Linked DNA regions of Homo sapiens: all the other regions are linked to region 4. The links are contacts of gene promoters, found by promoter capture Hi-C in blood cells and fetal thymus (Javierre and others, 2016). All regions are on one chromosome and are shown on one strand. The core of a region is centred on a gene start or on the middle of the fragment in contact, and the rest is flanking DNA. Distances in the headings are between cores, read along the strand shown. Region 1 overlaps ITSN2 (intersectin 2). Region 2 overlaps ITSN2 (intersectin 2). Region 3 overlaps ITSN2 (intersectin 2). Region 4 holds the start of ATAD2B (ATPase family AAA domain containing 2B). Region 5 overlaps ITSN2 (intersectin 2).

What was found. Contacts are between HindIII fragments. The CHiCAGO score rates a contact against its expected background, and 5 or more counts as called.
Region 1: a contact is called between a fragment that was not itself captured here and the fragment with the promoter of ATAD2B in region 4, in 1 of 17 cell types (M2 macrophages). The highest score is 5.5, in M2 macrophages.
Region 2: a contact is called between a fragment that was not itself captured here and the fragment with the promoter of ATAD2B in region 4, in 1 of 17 cell types (naive B cells). The highest score is 5.3, in naive B cells.
Region 3: a fragment that was not itself captured here is called in contact with the fragment with the promoter of ATAD2B in region 4 in 1 of 17 cell types (M2 macrophages); the score reaches 6.3 in M2 macrophages.
Region 5: a contact is called between a fragment that was not itself captured here and the fragment with the promoter of ATAD2B in region 4, in 1 of 17 cell types (erythroblasts). The highest score is 5.2, in erythroblasts.

What each region holds. Positions count from the first base shown.
Region 1 is chr2:24,285,823-24,288,911 of GRCh38, forward strand. ITSN2 (intersectin 2) reads right to left here. Exons shown (of 40, transcript NM_006277.3): 16 at 390-529. Among named protein-coding and RNA genes, the nearest start is that of ITSN2, 73 kb to the right of the region's middle. The HindIII fragment of the contact is 4,203 bases long and covers 1-3,089 here.
Region 2 is chr2:24,231,221-24,234,600 of GRCh38, forward strand. All of the region lies in intron 29 of ITSN2 (intersectin 2), which reads right to left. Among named protein-coding and RNA genes, the nearest start is that of FAM228A, 58 kb to the left of the region's middle. The HindIII fragment of the contact is 1,177 bases long and covers 1,497-2,673 here.
Region 3 is chr2:24,267,734-24,271,209 of GRCh38, forward strand. It overlaps ITSN2 (intersectin 2), which reads right to left. Exons shown (of 40, transcript NM_006277.3): 20 at 2,938-3,035. Among named protein-coding and RNA genes, the nearest start is that of ITSN2, 91 kb to the right of the region's middle. The HindIII fragment of the contact is 1,727 bases long and covers 1,009-2,735 here.
Region 4 is chr2:23,925,707-23,929,126 of GRCh38, forward strand. ATAD2B (ATPase family AAA domain containing 2B) reads right to left here and starts at 1,417. Exons shown (of 28, transcript NM_017552.4): 1 at 849-1,417. The coding sequence starts at 1,064. It also overlaps a transcript of UBXN2A not described here. RefSeq lists enhancers at 84-333, 432-1,350, 544-593, 1,351-2,267, 1,854-1,943 and silencers at 1,074-1,153, 1,354-1,683. The HindIII fragment of the contact is 2,488 bases long and covers 1-1,912 here.
Region 5 is chr2:24,339,288-24,342,702 of GRCh38, forward strand. All of the region lies in intron 1 of ITSN2 (intersectin 2), which reads right to left. Among named protein-coding and RNA genes, the nearest start is that of ITSN2, 20 kb to the right of the region's middle. The HindIII fragment of the contact is 2,815 bases long and covers 363-3,177 here.

The sequences.
Region 1 (3,089 bases), core at 517-3,016, 360 kb after region 4:
AAAACTGTGTTAAAAGAGCCACTAACACCTAAACTATTTCAAATTTTCCATATTTCTCATTTTTGAAAATTGCCTAGGATAACGCTGGCTGAGATCAGTTCTGTAATACTGACAAAGGCAATTGTTCTGGAAATGTATAGATGCCAAGACAAACAGCACATAGTCATCAAAAATTGGAAACTGTGATAAAGTATATGTTTAGTTATATGACACTATGTCATATAACTAGAACATTAAAAACAATCTTGAAATTCTTGTATAGTTGAAATTATAAAATAAATTATGAAAATGTAATACATATAATAGCTTTAGCTATTTATTCTATTAAATCAAAATAATGAAGGTAAGAAGGCAGTTACCTAAAAATAAATAGTATCAAAAATAAATACCTTTAGTTGATTGTTAAAAGAATCCATTTCTGACAGCTTAGATGCAGTTTCTTTTTCAAGAGCATCTAACTGTTCTTTAAGTCTTTGGCATAATTCTTCCTTTTCTAATGATTTTTTATGAAGTAAACTGACCCCTGAATCTGAAAAACAAACATCAGACAGTTTACATTTTGCAGAAGTTCGTATGTCATTACCAGCATGTCATTTACTGTTTGGTCAGATTGATGTAACTAGACCAATACGAAGGATGTATACACAATGCAGACCAGTACAAGAGAAAACATTCAGTTGTTATTTCCACTTCCCAGATTATATGCTGGAAAGAGCATCAGAGGAAATGGTTGTAAGCCTTGGTTCTGCATTCAAAAGGACTAGGACCTGAAGTGAAATTCTACTTTAGGAAAGATGCTTCACCAATCGAATCCTCAGGCTTTTCATCTATACAATGAGCATCATGCTACATTAAATGAGGTGATGGATATAAAGCCATTGTACACTCTGGTCCACAGTTAATACTCAATTAATAGAAACTATAGTTAAAGTAGCTTTCCATTTATTCTTAGTGCTCCCAAGAACAGGGAAATATTCACAGCAAAGATTCAGTAAGTATTACTAACTGGATTATTTAGTAACATTATTTTAGGAGGTAAGAACAGAAGGTTTCATTTTATATTATCTTTTTTTACATATTCATGCAGGGATGAAGAAACCAGATGGAAATATATAATGCAGAATACATTACAATAAATTAAAATAGCAATATTATCTGTTTAAATGTCTGTTTTTAACTTTATCATATTTTTGAAGTACAGAAGTACAAAATTTAAATAAAATGAAACATACAGAGTAAAAAATTAAAACACCTCCATTTCAACTGCAAGTTCATCCCCCTTTTAGGCATTTACATTTAGATGTGTACATACTCAACTTTTATTTCCATGGGTTTTAACAGAATCATATTGTCTACATTGCTATGCAACTTGTTTTCAATTTAGTAAGATATCTTATCAATCAGGACAAACAGATCTAGTTCATTCTTTTAAATTGCTCCATAGTAGTTTACATTATGGCTACTGCATAATTTATATAACTACCTTTCTGACTGGTATGGGTAGATGTTGGTCTGAACCCACTGATCAACATCTACCCATTTTCCCCTCCCTCTAACCCCTGGTAACCACTCTTCTACTCTCAGTTTCTGTACAGGAGTTCAACTTTTTTAGATTTTATATGAAACTGAGGTCATGCAGTATTTGTCTTTCTGTAACTGACTTACTGCATTTAGCATAAGGGAGCGCAAATATCTCTTTGAGACAGTAATTTTGTTTCCTTTGAATATATATTCAGAAGTGAGATTGCTGGATCATACAAGAGTTCTATCTTATTTTTTTTAGAAACCTTCATACTGTTTTCCTTAACAACTATACCAATTTACATTCCTCCAACAGTGTACATGGGTTCCCTTGTTCCCACATGCTCACTACCACTCGTTATCTCTGATCTTTTTGATAACAGCCATCCTACCAGGTGTGAGGTGATATTATATTTCAATGTGGTTTAGATTTGCATTTCCCTGATGATTAATAATGTTGAGTCCCTTTTTAAATATCTCTTTACCATTTTTAGGTCTTCTTTGGAGAAATGTCCACTCAGGTCCTTTGCCCATTTTGAAATTGGGTTGTTTTTTGGTATTGAGTTATATATATTCCTTGTATTTTGGATATAAACCACTTATCAGATACATGGCTCACAAGTATTTTCTCCCATTCCACAGACTGCCTTTTCATCTTGATTGTTTCCTTTACTGTGCAGAAACTTTTTAGTTTGATGAAGTCCCACTTGTTTATTTTTGTTTCCTGAGCTTTTGGTGTAATATCCAAAAAATCACTGCCAAGGCCAATGTCAAAGAGCTTTTGTCAATGTTTTCTTCTAGGAGTTTTACGGTTTCATGTCTTATGTTTAATCCATTTTGAGCTGATTTTTGAGTATGGTATAAGGCTCCAATTTCATTCTTTTGCAGGTGGATATCCAGTTTTCCCAATACCATTTATCGAAGAGGCTACCTTTTCCCATTGTGTCTTCTTGATACCCTTGTCAAAAATTAGTTGACCATATACACTTGGGTTTATTTTTGGGCTCTCTATTCTATTTCATAAGTCTGTATGTCTTGTAATTGACAAAAAATTGTATATATATTGTATGCATGTTGTTTTAAAATATGTATACATTGTAAATTGGCTAAGGAGCTAATTAACATATGCATAATTTAGCTAATTAACATAATGTGTATGTTAATTAGCTAGGCTCTCTATTCTGTAAATCTATGTCTTTTGTAATCAACAAATAAAAACTTGTATTTATAGTACGCATGTTGTTTTGAAATATGTATACATTGTAAAATGGCTAAATTCAGCTAATTAACCTCACATACTTACCTCACATACTTACCATTTTTGTGGTGAAAACACTTAAAATCTATTCTCTTAGCAACTTTAAAGAATACAATGCACTATTATTAACTATAGTCACCAGGTTGTACAATAGATTTCTTGAACTTATTCCTCCTATCTAACTGAAATGTTGATTTCCTTTGAGCAAACTCTCAGTGATCCCCTTTTCTCTCACCAGCCCTGGTAGCCACCATTTTATTCTCTACTTTTATGGATAAATATATACACTCCACAAATAAATGAAATCATA
Region 2 (3,380 bases), core at 835-3,334, 310 kb after region 4:
ATTTTGTTCGTTTTCTGTTTTAGCCTACTCAAACACCAGCTCCAAGATGGCAGAAATTTTTGTCTTATAATTTGCCACATCCCCAGTGTCTGACACACAGGAGGGCTTCGATAAGCATTTATGGAATGTGATGTGAAGATACACTCTGAGCTTCAGGAGACAGTACAGCAGTGTTGACTACAGGCAGTCAGAGAAATTGATGAAAACTTCCTGGTAGGTCCTTTTTGGTAGACAAGAAGAGTGGGCAAAGAAGAAAGATGAGAGATCATGGCTACTATCAGGTTGATGTTCCCAGAGGAATAATTAGTAGTGGGCTGGGCCACAAGACCCACCCCCACACTGTGGGAGGATGTGGAGACTGAGAGACAAGTTATGAATCATAGGTATGTCGCACCATAGTTGGGAAGCACTATTCCAAGTTACAGTGCAAGCAAGAATAAGAAGCAAACAAGAGATGCCTAAGAAAGGAGAGGGGAAAGATCTGGGCAGATTCCAGGAGGTAAAGGACAAAAGACAATCTGTGATGACGAACACAGAGAGTGCTTGTTCAGATTATGTCACAAGTCCCACAAAAGTCCTTGCCCATTTGGAGGGGAGCAGTGCCGGTGAACAATGCTATTCTCTGTGTGCCCACTTATGCGGCCAGAGTATCACATAATGGTTTCCAGTTATACTGTAGTTAAGCTCAGTGAAAAGATGAGATTTTTAACAGTAAATCTAGATGAATAAACTGCATTTTCTGAAGGCTGCCTTTTTATTGAAGTTTTATCAGGACACTAGAAAGTTACAAGATATTTTATGTTGTAAAAGAATAGCTTTTCATCCACTTGGCAAATATTTATTGAGTACCGGGTAGCATGCTTCCACCACAAAGATATTTGTTTTTACTTTTGGAAATTTAAATAATTACTGGACAAATTTCTAAATTCATGTCTTTTTGAGGCCTGTCAAGTTCTACTCCATTAGGAGCTATGTTGCTCCTGTAAGCACAAAAAGGAAAGAAGTTGAAATCATATTCTAATGTTGCAGACCATCAGAAAGCAAACTATTTGCCTATCAGAAAATAGTCATATTCTAGAATTTCCAAAAGCAACTATATTGACAAGTGCAACCAGATAAAGACAAATTTTATTGGTTTTATTTTTACTTTTGAATCTACTGTAAAAGGTCATAAGCCTAAGACAGCAATGACCTCCTAATGATAGACAAAAGCGCAGACCTGGCCCCAGAGAGCAGTTAGTTCAGGCTAAAATCTGCATTACCTTCTAACCTGCCAGACTTGTACCATGACTCAATTGAGGGAGTTAATGTGAGATGCAGGATATAGACTATTATAAAGAGATATGAAATAGTAGTTTCATCATGTTAGAACTTTCAATTCTAACAATAAAAATAACTATACCAATATGTGTATGATGATTTTCAAACCCTGATCAATCCTCCGAATAACTGATAACAGCTCTGACCCCTGCTCTATAAGTAAATAGATAATCTGAAGCTTAGTGGTGAAGAGACTTACCAGATAAATTAGAGCTACTACATATCTAAATCTAGGTAACTTGATTCAAGTCTTATACTTTCCAATGGCAGGCCATTTAAGATGATGCTTACACTGCAATTACTGGAGATTCCATGTATAAACCTACCAGGTCCTATGCTTGGTGAACTGAATTCTAAAGGCAAAAAAGGTTTAGGATAAATATTCTGAATGCCAATTAGCCCAAAGCAATGAAAAAGCAAACAAGGCCCTTACTCTAACTCTTTTTTATGTCTAAGTGATATAATTATTCCCTTACACACCCTTCTACTCTGTCACACACACAATTAGGACCTTGTATCTAATAGCCAGTTCCAAAGAGACTGTTCCATGCACTGTAGCACTTTGTATCAGTGCACTGATTACTACAGTTCTGTCCTTGGGCAATACGGGTTTCATATGCACATATATATTTTTTCTTAGTATTACTGAACAGCTTATTACACCATTAATCTCCCCCAATGGTATGTTCATATAACTCATGTTTTCCACTTGTTTATGACTACATACATAATTGGAGACTTTGCCCCAAATTGCTGAGTTTAGGACACACAAATTCTATAGCACTGGCTGACTCTGACTTCAGGTGGCTAATGGATGACCACCGGTGACACAGGGATCCCAGTGGCAGGTTCTTCGGTACCTTGGAATGTAACTTGACCAGCTTGGATTCATTTAAAGCAGTTAATTTTCTTTACCCTCCATCTTGCAATTAACTGATGACTGTTCTGCTTTTGTGGTTGGGAGTTAAGAGCAGCTCCCAGTTAATGGAAAGCAGCATGTGGGGGTGGCTAAGAGAATGAGTTCTGAAGTCAGATCTGGACTTGAGTTCCAACTCTACTACTTACTCAGACAACCCAAAGATTAGTTCATGACTTGGTACACAGCAAATATTTACTAAATGTTAGCTGTTATTTCTAGTATCTATTATGTGTCAGACATTAAACTTGTGCTTTACAAACCCCTTAAGCCTCATGTGCAATGTGGGTATTATTATTCTCACTTATACAGACCAGGCTAAGGCTCGGAGGGGTGAGCTAGCTGAGACAGGAATCAAAGCAATCCTCCCACTATACTTCCCACTACACTCATTTATCGTTCTCTTTGAAAGAGTAAGTGATTTTTGCCTTTTGACAAGCTTAAAACATCTCTCTTAAGAATGTCCTTCATAATTTGTTGTTCTTTAAAGCAAAGTTTAAAAAGTGATTCTAAAACTGATTCTAAAAGTTTATACGGAGAGGCAAAAGACCCAGAATAGCCAACAAAAAAATTAAAGGAGAAGAATAAAACTGAAGAACTGACACTACCTGACCTCAAGACTTACTAGAAAGCTGCAGTAATCAAGCCAGTGTGATACTGGCCAAAGAATACACAAATAGATCAATGAAACAGAATAGAGCCCAGAAATAGACCCATATAAATAGAGTCAACTGACCTTTGACAAAGGAGCAAAGGCAATACAATGGGGCAAAGATACTCTTTTCAACAAATGATGCTGGAACAACTGGCCATCCAAATGCGAAAAAAAAAAAAGAAATTGTCTTTAAAATGAAATATAGACACAGGTCTCTACTGTTCGCAAAAATCAACTCAAAATGCATCACAAACCTAAATCTGAAACACAAAACTATAAAGCTCCCAGAAAATAGTGTAAGCGAAAATCTAGATAACCTTGGGTTTAGTGATGACTCTTTAGATATGATACCAAAGACACAATCCATGAAAGAAAGAGTTGATAAGCTGGACTTCATTAAATGTAAACACTTTCATTCTGCAAAAGATGTGGTCAAGAGAATGAGAAGACAAGGCACAGACTGAAAAAAAATTTGCAAAAGACGTATCT
Region 3 (3,476 bases), core at 622-3,121, 340 kb after region 4:
TTTTGTAGAAACAGGGTCTTCCTATGTTGCCCAGGCTGGTCTCTAACGCCAGTACCTACGTGATACTCCTGCCTCGGCCTCTCAAAGTGCTGGGATTATGGGTGTGCACCTGCACCTGGCCAAAAGCTTTTAAAAGTATTAATTTCTAGATACACTTTTTCCTAGTGTTTTCAACCTAATCAAGAAGAAAAATCTCGTTCATTTATTCTGTAGTTAGGCCAAGTTGTTTTAGTAAGAGGTCAATTTTAATCTCTTTCACATCTGTCATTTATAGTTGTAATTAATTTTTAGTTGTTAATTTACATACTGAGTTAAACTGAACATTTTATATAAATTCTCACAGGCCTAGCAAAACTACTTATTACTTCTTCTTAACTACTTATTAATTAATGTTAGCAAAATAGCATTAACAGATTAGAAGGCTAGAAAAACATTTCAGCTTGTCATCGAAAATGTGGCCAAGACTCAGTGGAATTTCTAATCCTTTTCACTTTCAATGAAACCTCCGGTAACACCCTCATCCATTAAGTTGATCAGACCTTGCCTCCTATCTTACCGGGAATTTGGAAGTCCTGGGACCTGACTTCATCTTCTACTTCAGCAAAATTTACTTTAATCCCTCCCACCCTTTCTTCCTGCCCTCTAATGACAAAGGATAAGGTATTCAATCCTTCTACCACTCTCTTCCAGGGCTCCAGATTCCAGCCTTCTAGCCTTTTCAAGAATCTTCCTCATCTCCATCTATTAGTCAGAACAGGGAGGTTTGACAAGGAACATGAAGTGCCTTCCTGATGCTGTACGTTCTACACACTGATCTGAGGGGGGCTTCACAGATACACAGATGTGTACACATTCTTTGAGCTGTATACTTATGGTTGTACACTTTGCTATATATAAATTATACTTTAATAAGAAAAAACAATCTTTATCAGTTATTTATACTCTTTCCATTATCATTAACCTGTTTCCTCTCTGCAGATCCTTTCTACTATTATTTAAACTTGCTCAAGCTTCAGCCAACTTTAAAAAAAAAAAAAACTTCCCTCAACCCACATTTCTCATTATTTACTACCTTCTCTCCTTCTCCCTTTCAAAGCCAAGCTCATTCAAAGAGTTTTATATATTCACTGTCTCCTCTTCCTCTCTTCCAATTTATTCCAACTCACTGAAATCTGGCTTCTCGCTCTACTAGTCCACTTAACTGATACTGCTGTCCTCAAGTTAACAACACCTGTGCTATTGCTAATCTAATAATTTTTTTAGTCCTTGTTTTATTTCACTTGCAGATCACTCTTCTCAAAGTTCCCTAACATTAAACTCTCCTGTTTTTTTTTTTTTCCTACTACTAGTCACTCCTTTTAAGGCTCCACTTCCTCTAATAATTCCTTCAGTGTCCATGTTTCTCAGGAACTGCATCCTCAATCCTCTTCTCTCTCACGTTACTACTCCCCTGGATGAGCTCCATTACTCTCATGTCTTCCAACACCATCACATCACACTGGCGACATCCAGATTTACATCCTCAGCCCAGACCGCTGCCTGACATCTCTCTAGGTACTCTGGAGATCCAACTACTACTGCCTGGACATCTGAAACTCATACAAAACTGAACTCATAATTCTACTTATATATTCCCCCTCTGATTTTCCCTCTTAGGAAATGACACCATCATTAACCAATTTGTTCAAATCAGGCAACTCATGACTGACAGTAGTAACTCATGACTAATACTTCATGTTAATGATTCAGCAGAGTACACAAGCACCCAAGACACACAGCTAACTTTATGTTTCTGTTGTCACTGCCACCAGAATGGCTCTCTGACCATGGGAGAGGTCTGTGCTAAAGCTGGTAGCAGTCTACAACCTTTTCCTTACCTTCCTTCCTCTACTGCTTTAGGTTGTCACGCTTTTTCATTAGCCTACAAGCGTGTTAAGAGCAGAGATAATGTCTTATTCACTAAATCCCTAGTCTAACATAGTCAGCCCTCAAAAAATATTTGTTGAAATAAATAAAAAATATAACCAAAAATATAAGTAAACTCTTGACCAAACACGCCCAGAGATTGGTTGTATCTCTTCATCCAGACACCATCACCAACAAGGAGAGGAGGAATGGTAGGAAGAGCAGACAGTGGACTTGGGCTGGTTGTAGAACAAACCTCTCCCCCTGCTCGGGCACAGCTCCGGTACTACTAATAGCGGCAATGGCAAGAGCAGGAATGTGTGTTTAGGGTTTATCTTGGGTGCTAGCGTTTTGGTAAATTTTTTTCCCTAGTATCATTAAACATTTGCCACCTAACTGATAAATCACACTAACTGGTGACAGTGCAGGGGGAGCGGGGGAAAGAGGCACTGGCTAGATACTCTGGCTAGATACTCTGGTTAACATTAGTTTAACAAGAAGAAAACAGAAGCAGAGACTAAAATCCAAGTTTGTGTGCTTCTAAAGCCTGTACTCTTTCCATTATGTCCTACTGGCTCTATCAAACACTACTCCTGGGATCTTCTCTTATTCATGTATTTTATATGGATTGTGATAACACAATAAAGACTTTCGTTCCAAGGAACAAATTGCCTGTATCCAGTTAGGGCTGTGGAATCTAACTCCTTCAATTCTTTTAACAGTTGCTGTATGGCATAGCAGAAACAACGCTGGATTTGGAAATAAAAAAACACATAACTGCATCCCATTCTGGCACTGCAATGCTGACAGTTACAACTTGTGTGAGTTTAAGCTTCCTTGGCTAGAACTTAGTTAGTAATAATAACTGTCCTATGCAGCTCTGAAGTATGTTGTAAAGTCCAAATGAGGTAATGTTTAAGAAACATTTTACAAAGGTAAATATATGAAATTAATGGTCAACATTACTACAGAAACTAATATATTACAATGTATTTAGGTTATTCATGATTAAAAAAAAAATTCATTTCCTACCTGAATTATATCTCCAGAATTAAAACTCATCTCATCATGGTTCCTTGCTTCAAAGGGGTATAATGCTCTATAATTCACCAAAACACTAGCTGTCTCACCTAAAGAGAAGACAATTGTCATTATTTGCAACTTACATGTATACATCTTTGCTATGACTCAATAAAGAGCTCTAAAACCTAAAAGAAAAAATCAAGCACCAAATACTACAATGAAAATCCACTTGATACAGACTTGCTAGGATTTCAGTATCTTGACTAGTCATCTAATAAAAAAGCAAACAAGGATGCTCATCTTAAGTAAGGTAGGAGGCAGCAAAACAAAGAGATGACTTGCGGGATGAAGCACACACATGGGTAGAAAGGAAAGTGCAGGAGTGGGGGCCAGGCTGAGCTGTACAAAGTGGAAGGAGACCAAGCAAAGAGAGGCTTGGTTTGATCTGTGGAGGTCTGAATATAACAGGGAAGTAAAGGACAAAAAGGGGGGTCTCAAAAGATAAGAATAGCAAGTTAACAGGGATGGCTGAAGAAAAATCTATACAT
Region 4 (3,420 bases), core at 167-2,666:
TTAATTCAATCACCAGCGTCTTTAAATGTCATTTTTGCAACTGCATGACTATGGTGTTCATTCACCTTTTGTAATATAGTCCCATAACAAAAATGTAGACACCCAAGAAACCACACAGTTTTGGCATGATGGTGCTGACTATCCGAAACATTCCACTTGTTTCTTTCGACGTGCTCCTTCTGTGACCTGAAAGCTCTGGTTCCTACTAGCACCTTGGTGAGCTAGCTGGCTGGTTCCCCAGCTATAATATCATGTTTGATCTCTCCTGCCTGGAGAGGCGATAGCGTTGATTTTGTTTTTAAAGTTGGTGTCAGAGCAGCTACAAACTTTTTTCAGCATCCCTGCCTGGCTGCCAACTGGAGCTCTCTGTTCACTTCCTCACCAACTTGAACCACCCCCAAACTGAGAGTAAGCTGGAGTTAGACAGCGGCAGGAACTGACACACTTTCAAGAAGGGTTTGACACCGCAGAAAACTTTCACTTCTCCAACCCTTCCACCCAGGGGCTCTGGCCCTTCGCTCTTGCTTCCCCGCTAGAATTCCCCTCTGGGGCAGGACAAGGACACGGACAGCAGATCGTTCGAATGACGCCGAAAGGGACCCCCAAAGCCCTCTCCCCTGGACTCAAGGGCTGTTCTTCACACAAAAGAGCCGGGCCAGCTTGAAAAGCAAAGGGGCCAGCGTCGCGGCCCTTCTCTGGGTGCCACCCTCCACCGCGCCCGCAGACCCTGTCTCCAGCCGCCCGAGCGGTCTCCACTGTAGGCTTCCTACCCCCAACCCGGCCAGACAAAGCCCCGGCAGCAGGGCCGGCACTTCCGAGCCTCCGGACTCGGGACGCCGCGCTCTTACCCTGGCCTCATCCAGAGTGACGCCGGCGCCACCGCTTCCCCCGGCTTTGGCGGCGGGGCAGCTGGCGGCGCGGGTCTTGGAGGAGCGGGTCCGAGAGGAGATGAAATGGCTGCTGCCTCCGGTCGCCCCAGGCTCTGCTCCGGCCCCAGGCCCAGGCCCGGGACCAGGAGACTTGGACCCGAGAAGGCGGAGAGAGCTCTTCCGGGTGTTCACCATGGTCCAGCCAGGGGGACGGAGTCCACGCCGCGCCCGGGAGAGCCGAGCAAGGCCGGCCCGCCGGCCGGTCAGTCAGGGCCAGCGGAGCCGAGCCGGGCAATGAGAGACGAGCCGGCCCGGAGCGTGCGGAGCGCAGACGAGCACAAGAGAGAGCCGGGCAGAGGAAGGGAAGTCGGCGTGAGCAGGCGGCGTGCGGGAAGCGGGGGCGGTGCTGCAGACCGGCAGCACAGACACTCCGCCGGCTTCGCCCTCCTCAGCGGGAGCCGAGCGGAGCCGCCATTTCTACCCCTTTCTCTCCCGTTCTCGCTCTCGAGCTCCGTGCGTCAAGGCTCCAGCGCCGCAGGGCCAACGAGACCGCTTCCGGCCGCAGCCACGGCGGGGCGCTGCGAAGCCGGCCAGCCCTTCCCGGCTGCTCGCTCCTCTCCCTGCCGCCTCCAGCTGCCCCGCCCCCGGCGCGGCGTCAGCGCTCGGCGGCCGGGGAGCGACGCTCTAGGCTGTCAGCTCGGTGGTTTCCAGCTCTCCCCGACCGCAGGGCTGGGGCGACCAGAAAAGCCAGACTAATCAGGACGAGTTCGGGCGTGGAATTGGGCCTGAAGCCCTCATGCCCAGCCAGGCCTGAATGCCCCAGACCCCACCGTCACCCCCGTGGCCTGGATGGAGCAGGGGACGGCCGGCGAAGGCGCGGGGTGGAAGGGGAGCGGCGACGAAGGCGCGAGGAGCTGACTGGGAATCCCCAAGCTACCCGAGGCAAGACACTGAACTTGAGTCGCACTTTTCATGCCTGTAGAAATGAGAATGACAGCTGTGATAAAAAAAAAATTCATCTGGGCGGTATCTGGAACTTGGTAAGCTTAAGAAGAGAAGGGGGGGGGGAAACACCATGCTAGAACTCTGCGTTTTTAAACAAAGCGAGGCAGGGTCGTTTTCTATCCCCTTAGCCAGATCTAAGGCGGAGCCAAAGAATGAGTACCCTGTAAGAGCCGCCTCTATCGCCGCCCCCTGCCCCCGGCCCGCTGAAGAATTAAGAATACAAAAAGCTGAACCCACAGATAAAGCATTTGCAATTTAACTTCCAAAGAAAAAAAAATTAAGCCACACAATTCATATGAAAAGCTCTGCTGTAGGCCGGGTGCGGTGGCTCAAGCCTGTAATCCCAGTACTTTGGGAGGCCGGGGTGGGTGGATCACCTGAGGTCAAGAGTTCTAGATCAGCCTTACCAACATGGTGAAACCCTGTCTCCACTAAAAATACAAAAAATCGATGGGTGTTGTGGTGGGCACCTGTAATCCCAGCTGCTCGGGAAGCTGAGGCATGAGAACCACTTGAACCCAGAAGATGGAGGTTGCAGTGAGCCGAAATCACGCCACTGCACTCCAGCCTGGATGACAGAGCCAGACCCTGTCTCAGAAAAAAAAAAAAGAAGAAAGAGAGAGAGAAAGGAAGAAAGAAAGGAAAGAAAGAAAGAAAAAGAAAGAAAGAAAAGCTCTGCTGTAAAGTAGGAATTAGGTTCATTTCAAAAATTCACAGTACAGGCCGGGCTTACGCCTGTAATCCCAGCACTTTGGGAGGCCAAGGCGGGCGGATCACTTGAGGTCAGGAGTTCGAGACCAACCTGGCCAACATGGTGAAACCCCCTCTCTACTAAAAATACAAAAAATTAGCCAGGTGTCGTGGTGCATGCCTGTAATCCCAGCTACTTGAGAGGCTGAGGCAGGAGAATCGCTTGAACCCGGGAGGCAGAGATTGCAGTAAGCCAAGATCGTGCCACTGCACTCCAGCCTGGGTGACAGAATGAGACTCCATCTCAAAAAAAAAAAAATAAAATTCACAGTACATTAGACATAGCCTACTGTTTATTGGGCAGGAGTTTATTAAACTGTTTATTAAACTAAGAAAAATTGAAAACTCAGGAAAAGTCCTGAAAATGACCAAATGGCATCAAACTTAGAGCATTCTGGCCATCTAAGCTCCCAATCATTCCAAAAAACTGTACAACACTGGAAATGACAATTTTTTTTGTTTGGGAACCAGTATGGATTCCAGAATAGATAAATCCTTCTGACACAATTTGCATACCACATCCTCTCCTGGACACTTCACCTGCCACTTAGAGTTGATGTCTTAATGGGTGGGATTCCTCATAATGGAACCATACCTGGATTTTCCTGGGTCAAGTAGCTATCACATCACTGAGCAGCATAAACAAGTATCAATTCCTGTGGAAAGAGGCTGGTTTGGGCCAGGCACTGTAGCTCACACCTGTATTCTCAGCACTTGGAGGCCGAGGCGGGAGGATGGCTTGAGACCAGGAGTTGGAAACCAGCCTGGGCAACATAGTGAGATCCTCTCCCTGCCA
Region 5 (3,415 bases), core at 520-3,019, 410 kb after region 4:
CAAGGAAACTCCATCTCTACAAAAAACACAAAAATTAGCCGGGTGTGGCGGTGCATGCCTGTAGTCCCAGCTACTCAGGAAGCTGAGGTGGGAGGGTCACTTGAACTTGGAAGGCGAAGGTTGCAGTGACCTGAGATTGCGCCACTGCACTCCAGCCTGAGCGACAGAGTGAGACGCCGTCTCAAAAAAAAAAAAAAAAAGAGTTAAACCTTTAGAAACCCAGTAGTCTTCAAATTACGCTCCTTGGAGTTCTAAAAGTTTCAAGGAGGTACAACAGAGGTGGGGTAGGGAGGAAAGAGGGAAGGTTGGAAGGGATACCAACTTCAGTGAGACTAGCTCTGTTTTTGTGTTTTATATATTGAAGCTTCTCTGTAAGATTTCACCTGATTTTTTCTTAAAGATAAATGACAACACACTGAATTCCATCCTCTTCATTTCAGAAACAACTAAATAGGTCAGGTGTGGTTCACGGCTCATGCCTGCAATCCCAGCACTTTGGGAGGCCACAGTGGGAGGATCACTTGAGCCTAGGAGCTCAAGACTAGCCTGGGCAACACAGGGAGACTCTTTCTCTACAAAAAATTAAAAACTTAGTTGGGCATGGTGGCACACACCTGTAGTTCTAGCTACTCAGGAAGTAGCTACTCAGGAGGTGAAAGGATCATTTGAGCCCGGGAGTTCAAGGTTACAATGAGCTATGATTATGTCACTGCACTCCAGCTTGGGTAACAAAGTGAGACAGTGTCTCTAAAATAAAATAATGTAAAAAAAAACAAGTAGAAGCCAAAGAGATTAAGTAACCAAGATCACACAATTTAAGACAAACAGTAAGTCATGCTATTGATTTTGGACATTGCTGTGCAAGTCATGGAGAGCCAGTATTTAAAACACAGTATAAAGTTGAATGTACTTGGCAGGGCGCGGTGGCTCACGCCTGAAATCCCAACACTTTGGGAGGCCGAGGCGGCAGATTACCTGAGGTCAGGAGTTTGAGACCACCCTGGCCAAGATGGTATAACCCCATCTCTACTAAAAATACAAAAATTAGCCAGGCATGGTGGCACACGCTTGTAGTCCCAGCTACTTGGGAGGCTGAGGCAGGAGAATCGCTTGAACCCGGGGGGTGGAGGTTACAGCGAACTGAGATCACGTCACTGCACTCCAGCCTGGGTGACAGAACGAAACTCCATCTCAAAAAAAAAAAAAAGTTGAATGTACTTGTTTACCCAGCATCAAGATGAAGAAAGTCAAAATCGTCGCAGTCCCCAAAGTCCCCTCATGCTCCCTTCCAGCCTCTGTCCCACCAGGGAAACATGATCCCAACTTCTAATACCATAGATTCGTTCTGTCTGCTAAGGTACTTCATATGAATGGAATTATGTAGCCCGTTGTGTCTCTTTTGTTCAGCATTTGGTCTATAAGTTGTGTCATTATAGATCCTGTGTTCTCAAAAAAGGAAAAAAAACACACACACACACACACATATAGTATATGTTCTAGTTAGAGACCCACATTTGGTAGTTATCAGAGATTGGGAATACTTGTAATGTCAGTGAATTACATTATCCAGGGAAAGTACATATAAAAAAATATATAAGAAGACTGGTCTTTTAAGAGGAGAGGAAGACAACTCTGACAAGCAGTATAGGAACAAACTGGATTTTGAGTCTTGAGACAAACACACCAATTATGAAGTGACTGGCATAGTCCAGGTGGTGAGAACTTGAACTTGAGCAATGGAGAAGAGGTATTTCAAAGGTAGAATAGACAGGATTTTCTGGTCAGCTAAATGTGGAAGATGAAAGAGGAGCATCACAGATGGGTTTCTATCTTGGGTGACTGTAGAGCAGTAATATTAACCAAGATAGAAGCTCTAAGAAAGTAGGAATCTAGATATTAGATTTGAGGGATGAACAACAAAATGTTCAATTTTGAGCACACCTAATCTGATCCACCTACAAAGACATCTAGATGGAAGTGTCCAAGATATAGTGAACACTCTATCTAGAAACCCAGATTTCGTAGTCATTAGGGATTGGGAGTAGTTGTAATCATGTGGGTGAATGACATTATCCAGGGAAATCATGTATAAGAAAAAAGAGACAAGAATAGTCAGAAACAGAGGTTCAGAAACACGAGAAATCGGGATACAGAGTTAAGAGTTTCAAGGAGAAAATGGTATTGTCACAGAAGTTAAGACTCAGCTATTAGTGTTGGCAATCTGGAGTGAGTGTAGTTCTAGCACAGTGATGGCTATAGAAGCCAAATTGAAGTAGATTAGGCAATAAATGTTTAAAATAAGGGGAAGAGCCTGGGTGTGGTGCCTCACACCTATAATCCAAGCACTTTGGGAGGCTGAGGCAGGCAGATGACATGAAGTCAGGAGACCGGTCTCACGGTCAACATGGTGAAACCCTGTCTCTATTAAAAATACAAAAATGCGCCGGGCATGGTGGTGAGTGCCTGTGAGGCGGGAGAATAGCTTGAACCTGGGAGGTGGAGGTTGCAGGGAGCCAAGATCGCACCACTGCCCTCCAGCCTGGGCGACAGAGCAAGATTTCCTCTCAAAAAATACATAGGAAAAAAGGTAAGATTTAAGAAAGGGAGGCAGAGTTATTATAAGGCTTTAGTTTTTAGGTGACAGAACAAAACTATTTTTAGACAAAAAAAAGAAATAAAGATTTAATTTACAAAAAGGAGATGGGAGAGAAGTTACCTAATGGAAGTTAGGGCCAGAAAAAGAAGTAGTAGACAGCTCTAGAACACGAAGTTAGAACCTGGGACAGATATTTCTGTCTCTAAGAATGAAGTTCAGGAAGGGGAGTAAGAATGAACAAAGGCATACATAAGTTTAGAAGCAGAAGAAAGAGCGATTGAGAAGGTACAGATTTTCTTCTACCATTTTTTTTTCTTTTAGAGATATATAATCTTTTTGAGACAGTCAATGTTGCCAAGGCTGGAGTGCAGTGGCATAATCACGGTGCACTGCAGCCTCGACCTCCCAGGCTCACGTGATTCTCCCACCTCAGCTTTTCAAGCGGCTGGGACCACAAGAGCACGCTGCCAAGCCCGGCTAATTTTTAAAATTTCTTATAGAGGTGCAGTCTCCCTATGTTGCCCAGGCTGGTCTCAAACTCCTAAGCTCAAGTGATCCTCCCACCTCAGCCTCCCAATGCAAGCTTTCTTTGTCTCTCTTCTTTAGGCTCAGACAACAGTCCAAAGGGCAGAGCTAAGGACAGACTCCTTGATCTCGTAGGCCCTCAAGTGTCTAAGCACAAATTTCTCTCCTCTTCAAGCCATAAAAGAGAAAGACACATGCAAATCAGTTCCCATGACTCAACCAGATATGTGCATTTCAGCTTGCATTCAAATCAGCTTAGGCCCTACACATCAAAACATTTGTTAAAATGAATGA